Regions from separate parts of the Homo sapiens genome. Here region 2 is linked to region 1. Evidence: promoter capture Hi-C in 16 types of primary human blood cells and fetal thymus (Javierre and others, 2016). All regions are on one chromosome and are shown on one strand. Each heading gives the region's core, a stretch centred on a gene start or on the middle of the fragment in contact. The rest is flanking DNA. Distances are from core to core; before and after follow the strand shown.

The links. The method cuts DNA at HindIII sites, captures the fragments that hold promoters and counts their contacts. A CHiCAGO score of 5 or more calls a contact.
Region 2: a contact is called between a fragment that was not itself captured here and the fragment with the promoter of PKD2L2 in region 1, in 1 of 17 cell types (total B cells). The highest score is 5.1, in total B cells.

What each region holds. Positions count from the first base shown.
Region 1 is chr5:137,888,207-137,892,196 of GRCh38, reverse strand. PKD2L2 (polycystin 2 like 2, transient receptor potential cation channel) reads right to left here and starts at 2,740. Exons shown (of 15, transcript NM_001300921.2): 1 at 2,675-2,740; 2 at 1,615-1,716. The coding sequence starts at 2,705. PKD2L2-DT (PKD2L2 divergent transcript) reads left to right here and starts at 2,878. Exons shown (of 4, transcript XR_948815.3): 1 at 2,878-3,050; 2 at 3,909-3,990. The HindIII fragment of the contact is 1,963 bases long and covers 1,390-3,352 here.
Region 2 is chr5:138,512,119-138,516,108 of GRCh38, reverse strand. It overlaps ETF1 (eukaryotic translation termination factor 1), which reads left to right. Exons shown (of 11, transcript NM_004730.4): 5 at 2,403-2,541; 6 at 3,155-3,345. Among named protein-coding and RNA genes, the nearest start is that of ETF1, 29 kb to the left of the region's middle. The HindIII fragment of the contact is 182 bases long and covers 2,183-2,364 here.

The DNA.
Region 1 (3,990 bases), core at 1,491-3,990:
GTTGACTTTTTCTCTACATGAGAGTAAGGCAATATAGTATGGTGAGTGGTTAAGGTTACATGGACTTTGAATTCAGACAGATAAGGGTGTGAGTCCCATCACAGGGATAGTATCTCTTACCCCCTAGTTTTGTTGTGAGAAGTGAGATGATGCACACAGAACATTTTAAACTGTGTTTTGGCACATGATGAGTTTTTAAAAATATTAACTAGTGGCGGGGCGTGGTGTTGCACCCATAATCCCAGAACTTTGGGAGGCTGAGGTGGGTGGATCACCTGAGATCAGGAGTTCGAGACCAGACTGACCAACATGGTGAAAACCCTGTCTCTACTAAAAACATACAAAATTAGCCGGGCGTGGTGGCACAGGCCTGTAATCCCAGCTACTCCGGAGGCTGAGGCAGGAGAATCGCTTGAACTCAGGAGGTGGAGGTTGCAGTGAGCCACTGTACTCCAGCCTGGGTGACAGAGCGAGACTGTCTCAAAAAAGAAAAAAAAAAGAAAAAAAATCACATTATAAATGGAGATTCAGGTTGCTGTATTATATTAAAAAAAGTGTTCTTTAAAAATCTCTGAATAATGGGATTATAAATGATCTTTTTACTTACATTTTTACATTTTCCAAATGTTCTGTAGTAAGCATGTAGTTTTCATAACCAAGCTTTTATAAAGCAGTCTAAGATATCTTAATTTATAAAGTTGCCTACAGTTATCTTTTTTTTTTTTTTCCTTGGGACAGGGTCTCAGCCTGTCACCCAGGCTGAAGTGCAGTCGTTGCAATCACAGTTCACTGCAGCCTCGACCTCCTGTGCTCAAGCAATCCTCCACCTCAGCCTTCTCAGTAGCTAGGACTACAGGGGTGTGCCACCACACCTGGCTAATTTTATAGTTGTCTTTTCAATCAAGAGCAGACTCAAACTCACCCCTACAACACCAATTAATTACTTAATTGCTATACAATTGCCAGTGTGTAGCACATACCAACATGAGACAATACTGCCAGTGAGCTTTCATCTACTGTTATGTTGGGTGCCATCGACAAATGCTCTTTAATACTCCTCTTTGCATATTAAGCCAATGCTATTGACCCACAGGTAGGAGGAATGCAGGTTGAGATGTTTTCCCAGTCCTCCTTAATTATTTGCATTGACTCAGCACAAACTATTTTTTTAACTGCAATAGGTCAGTGAAAAGAACCAAGCTAATGGCAGACACCAAGATGAACTTTGGCCTCATTTGTACTTTGATTTATGAAACTCAGCTGATGTGTCTATATGACTCTAAACAAAATCAAATTGCAGTTGCCAACCCAAGGGATGAATTATGCTCAAGACAGAACTGCCAAATGAAAGGAATAATTCTAATTCAGTCAGTATTGACTATGGAAGCTTCTTACATTTGCGATGTAAAATTTTGCCCCTTAAGAACTGAAAATAGTCAATTTCTAAATGAAATGAATCTAAATGAATTTAAGATTATGTTTAAACGTGTCACTGTATTTTGAGTTTTAGTAGCCTGACAGCCTGTGGTTTTGAAGTTTGTATGTTTTATTTTTCATCTCCACATTTTAACTTCTTAGTTCAAACAAACAGCATCTTTATATCTGTGTACTTACATATACATAGGTTTATTAAAAAAATAAAGTAGAGTAACAATTCCTGAAGTGTGGTTGTAATTTCTACTTCCTTTCTGTAATGCAACTTATGTTTCGAAGCCCCTGTGAGATATAAGACAAAATTTTTCTTTACATTATTATGTAATTTATAAGTGACAACAATGGAAAAACCACAGCCACTTTTAGTCCTTACACTGCGGGGAGGAAAGCTCCAATAGCTTCTGGCTATTTTTCAATTCTTAGTTTTACGAGGCAGGGATAATTTTTTTACTATATACTATTAATAACAGATTTTTTTTTTGAGACGGAGTCTAGCTCTGTCGCCAGGCTGGAGTTCAGTGACGCGATCTCGTCTCACTGCAGCCTCCGCCTCCCCGGTTCAAGCGATTCTCCTGCCTCAGCCTCCCGAGTAGCTGGGACTACAGGCGCGCGCCACCACACCCAGCTAATTTTCGTATTTTTAGTAGAGATGGGGTTTCACCATGTTGGCCAGGATGGTCTCGATCTCTTGACCTTGTGATCCGCCCGCCTCGGCCTCCCAAAGTGTTGGGATTACAGGCTTGAGCCACTGCGCCCGGCCACTAACAGATTTTATATCATGATGTCTTCTCGCCAGTCTTAAGATGAAAAAGCAAAATACGAAACAAGTAAAACCTCTCATCTGTCCTAACCGTTTTCTCCACCCTCAATACAGCTTCTTGGGAAGGCTGGTTTCTGCTGGACAGGGGAAAAACACCTCGGCTTGAATTCTGTCAAGGTCACGACTCCCCAGATCAACCAAGGACTTTAGAGACCGGCCTAGCGACGGTCACTCGACAGGTGACAACGCCCAGCTCGAGCCTCCGGCAAGAGGCGAGCGCCACCTCGCTCAGGGCTTCAGTTTTCCCGTCTGTGCAATGGGACCATCTGTCCCTCTCCGCTTCCCCAGGGGAGGCTGTGAGGGCTAAAGGTGTCGGCAGTCACATCTCTCAAACGAATTTGGGGCCGCAGAGTTCCTTTCAGGGTGTCTGGAACTGCCAAATCGCCCCTGTCCCTCCCACTCCTTAAGAGGACCCCTCACCGCCTCGGTGCCACCGTGACGCCTCAGCCATGGCGGACCTGCACTACACCGCCCGTTCGTTCGCCTGAGGCCGCGGCGCTTGCGCGCTAGTCTTGCGGCGCGCGCTGCCCGGCTCTGACGCCTGCGCGAGCCCCCAGCTCCTCCAGGGCGGCGAGCTACTCGACAAGTCGTCAGCGCGGCTGCGCCGCAGGAGCCCGGGAGGCCTTTCGCCCGAGGCGGGCTGCGGGCTGCTGGGGTCTGGTGCGGAGGGCCAACTTCTGGGAATAACCTGGCTGTGGGCTTAAAAATCGTAGTCATTCATTATCACGGGCTTCTCTCTCTCGAATACCTTTAACATTTATCGCCTTGTTAGTCTCCACATCCACCTCCGTGAAAGGTAGGTATTTTTGTCCTCATTTTAGGCCTGAAGAAACCGAGAAGCTGAGAAATGAAGTAATTCACTGGAAGTTGGGGCCAAGTCTTGGATGCCCAAGCCCAAATTCCTAACCGTGACCCTACGCTGCTGCTGCTGCTGCTACTTGCAGAAACTGGTTATTAACCGAGAGCTGTTGCTGGAAGTAGCTTCCACTCCCCTGCCCCCGTGATGTAAAAATAGATGAAAAACTCTGCAGTGATTATGTGAAAGGTCAGGCCGACACAGGAGTCCTGGGGCCCAGACCCACATCTGACCCAGAAGCTTTGCAAAGATGAGAAGGTTGGTAAACCAGCTATAGAAAAGGCCAAACTAATTTGGCTGTAAATTAAGGCAGCCAAAAGCCCTCCAGGATGTAAGACCAGGACGGATTCTCGTGTTGATAAAAAGGAAAATAAAATGGAATCCAGTCCAAAGGCCCCAGGGAAACCTGCAAAGAAAACCACTAACCAGTTTTGAAAGTAAAAGATAAAGCCACTTTTGTTATTTCCCTGAAAGAGATGTAGACTGCTGTCGATAAATGCTGTTTTATGTGTAGATAAAAAGCAAAACGGCCACACAGTAGTGAGGGTCAAAAACTACCATCGATGAGAGGAACAGGAGAGGCCTCGCAAAAGGCTGACAGCCAGTGAACTAGAAGCCCGAGAGGAAAAAAAGCTTTAGAATAGTTTTAACAAAAGGATTTGGGCTTTCCTGTACTGGGACTCTCAGCTGTTCACAAAATTATGCTTTCTAAAGTAACAGATTATCTGAAATTGAAATTATTAGAGGAAAAACACCCATATATAGGTAATCAAATTTACATAATTTTTTTTTTTTTAGAGATGGAGTCTCGCTATATTTCCCAGTCTGGCCTCAAACTCCTGATCTTAAGGGATCCCCAGCTCAACCTCTCCCAGCAGCT
Region 2 (3,990 bases), core at 1,024-3,523, 620 kb before region 1:
TAGGATGAACTTGAACAGTGGAAAGGAAACCTCATTAGAGTGACCTAAATCAGTCAACAGTAGAACAATCAAGAATTCACAGCTGGCTCCTTAGTTCATTCTCTTGCCTTTCATCAACCTAGGGAAAAACCTCTACAGTGGAATTAGAACTGACATTTGTCGACAGTTTACAGTGGATGATTTTTGCTAACTTGATGGGAAGTCCATTTATAGTTGGATCTTGGTCGACTGCATAGACAATCCAGACTGTTTTTCTCTTCACTACCACACTCTACTTACAGCAGAGGGTTTTTCAGGGAGCCTCTCAGCCACTGAAACCACTTACCTGTATCTGGTTGGATGAAAGCCGATTTTGAATCTTGTTGATTTAAACAGTGCCAGGTACCCATGTTGTCTGGCTTTTGCTCACTTACTGAGTTAGCCTTGTTGGCTTTTTTCCAAACCTTAACTCCTTTTCTAAGATACTGTTTAATCTTGCTAACTTTGTACATTTTAGCTTTAACTGAGAGGGTTATATCCTGTTTATCAGGGTAATTATATATTCTAATAAGGGATATGCCTATTCCCTGATAAGCAGATTTATTAAAAACTTCAATCTACCTAACGGGTCATTTTGATAAGGCTATATTATTAACGTGCAATATTCATATTCATGTCTTTTTTCTTTTTCTTTTTCTTTTTTCTGAGATTGAGTTTTGCTCTGTTGCCCAGGCTGGAGTGCAATGGCACGATCTCGGCTCCTTGCAACTTCCACCTCCCGAATTCAAGTGATTGTCCTGCCTCAGCCTCCTGAGTAGCTGGGATTACAAGTGTGCACCACCACGCCCAACTAATTTTTGTATTTTTAGTAGATGAGATTTCACCATGTTGGCTAGGCTGGTCTGAAACTCCTGACCTCGAGTGATCCACCCACCTTGGCCTCTCAAAGTGCCATTGCAGGCATGAGCCACCACGCCCGGCCACAATATTCATGTCTTAATGCCAACTATCTAGCATGGTTTGTTAAAGATGGATTCTTAGTTGATCCATCTGCTTTCTAGTCAATTATTGAAGGGGCTATTTTCTTAAAATGGAATGGTAAGGCCAGGTGTTGTGGCTCACACCTATGTAATCCCAGCACTTTGGGAGGCCAAAGAGGAGGATCAGTTTATAAAAATAAAATGGAATGGGTAACAATTTCTTACTTCCAAAGAGATTGTCCCCTGGCAATTAGAGATCAACTAAGTGTGTAGTATTCCGATTCCACTGTGAGAACTCTTATCTATGTATGTCCCAGGACTGTTTCAATATTTTCTCTTTGGGAAGGCATAAAGGGATATAAAGTTAACATAGAAGGAAGGTTTTCCTCATAAAACTCAGAATCATTAGCTGCAATACCTTTAAAGACATGCTGGCTCATGCCTGTAACCCCGGCACTTTGGGAGGCTAAGGCAGAAGGATCATTTGAGTCCAAGACTTCGAGGCTGCAGTGAGCTATGATGGCTACTGCACTCCAGCCTGGCCAGCAAAGTGAGACCCTGTCTCAAAAAAAAAAAAAAAAGGAACAAGTTAAAGTTTTTTTGTTTTTTGAGACAAGGTCTCTGGATCACCCAGGCTGGAGTACACTGGCACAATCTTGGCTCACTGCAACCTACACCTCCCAGACTAAAGCCTTTCCAAGTAGCTGGTAGGGACTACAGGCACGTGTCACCACAGCCACCTAATTTTTGTATTTTTTTGTAGAGACAGTGTTTCGCTATGTTGCCCAGGCCAGTCTCAAACTCCTGAGCTCAAGCCATCTGCCTGCCACAGCCTCCCATAGTGCTGGGATTACATGTGTGAGCCATCATACCCAGCTTAGAACTCTATATTATAAAACTGAAACTGTATCCATTGAGCAATAATTCCTTGTTCCCCCTTTTTTCCAGCCCCTGGCAACCACCATTTGACTTTTTGTCTCTGATTTTGATTACTCCAGGAACCTCATATAAGTGGAGTCATACAGTATTTGTCCTTTTTTGACAGGGTTATTTCACTTAGCATGTATTCAAGTTTCATCCCTGTTGTAGTGTGTTTCAAAATTTTCTTCCTTTTTGAGATTGAGTAGTATTAACTGCTGTATGTAATATTGCTATAAACATGGGCATACAGATATCTTTCTGGTTTTATATTTACATGCCCATGTCAAATGTGTTGAAAAGCTTCACATAGATATCATTCGTTATTTCCTTATTGGGTTCAAATTTGTCCATAAGAGTTACATGTTTATAACTGAAGTCTATAAATTATTCCGTAGAAGGTTTTCCCACAGTGCTAATAGCATGGTGAGTGGAGTGAAAGGGCTTGTATATATCCTTTCAGAGTTTTTTTGACCTTAGCAAAGCTTTGGGATTCACCGTGTGGTACTTGTGTTTGCTTTTCAGGCTCTTACAGCACTACTTTCAGATGATAGCAAGTTTGGATTCATTGTAATAGATGGTAGTGGTGCACTTTTTGGCACACTCCAAGGAAACACAAGAGAAGTCCTGCACAAATTCACTGTGGATCTCCCAAAGAAACACGGTAATACAGGAGGAGAACATGAACCCACTTACTTTGTGTCTAGCAATAAGAAAACAGTATGGTGGGCCGGGTGCGGTGGCTCACGCCTGTAATCCCAGCACTTTGGGAGGCCGAGCCGGGTGGATCACGAAGTCAGAAGTTCGAGACCAGCCCGGCCCTGTCTCTACTAAAAATACAAAAATGTGACGGGCGCCTGTAATCCCAGCTACTTGTGAGGCTGAGGCAGGAGAATTGCTTGAACCCGGGAGACGGAGGTTGCATTGAGCCAAGATTGCGCCACTGCACTCCAGTCTGGGCGACAGAGTGAGACTCTGTCTCAAAAAAGAGAGAGAGAGAAAACAGTATGATGTGAGGGGAGTGAATCCAGATGATGGGGAGAGAAGCCTCCTGTAATGACTGGTGCCTCATTGGTACTTACAGCTCCTCTCTTGACATAGACTTAGTAGTCGCTCTCTGAAAACAAGTAGCAGTTTATGCTGAACGTTTAGTTAAGGGAATGGTGATTTTTCTTTGTCCTTTTCTTAGATGATGACATGATTATTTTATTTTTAATTTGAAGACATCTTGTAGTTCTTAATAATTGCCTTTTTCTCTTGCTACTTTTGTGTCAAAGGTAGAGGAGGTCAGTCAGCCTTGCGTTTTGCCCGTTTAAGAATGGAAAAGCGACATAACTATGTTCGGAAAGTAGCAGAGACTGCTGTGCAGCTGTTTATTTCTGGGGACAAAGTGAATGTGGCTGGTCTAGTTTTAGCTGGATCCGCTGACTTTAAAACTGAACTAAGTCAATCTGATATGTTTGATCAGGTAAGTAAGAAGTAGATGCTTTATTATGTAAGACCCTAGGTAGGAGTAGGTGAGTCCTCTGTGTGAGCACTGGAACAGACACATCTTTTTAAAATTCCTTGGGTTAAAAACTTGCCTCTGAGTTAAACAGCAGGTTTACAGATGTTTATCAGGAAACATTCCCCTGTGCTTTTCTGAACCCCTTCTCTTCTGAAATCAACCATTTTTAGGTGGGCTTCTTATGGATCCTGTGGAGGTTCCTTGTTTAGTTGGGTTGTCAGAATTGGCTGTAGAATGGAGTTTGATTTCAAAGAAACTAAAACCTGTTCCTTATTTTCTTTTTCTGATTTATTCTTGGAGATACATAGCAGCAAAGCTCTCAGCAGTATGACAGCTGATTCAGCCTAAAGCATTTAAAGCACATTTTATAACATGGGCTCAGCCATAATACACTTTCAAGATCTGGAGGAAGTAGCCTTATGGTAGAAGGTCCACCAAAGAAATTGCCTTTAAAAAAAAAAAAAAATATATATATATATATATATATATATATATATATTTTTTTTTTTTTTTTTTTTTTTTTTTTTGAGACTGGGTCTGGCTATCTTGCCTAGGCTGGAGTGCAGTGGCAATCATGGCTCACTGCAGCCTCGATCTCCCAGGCTT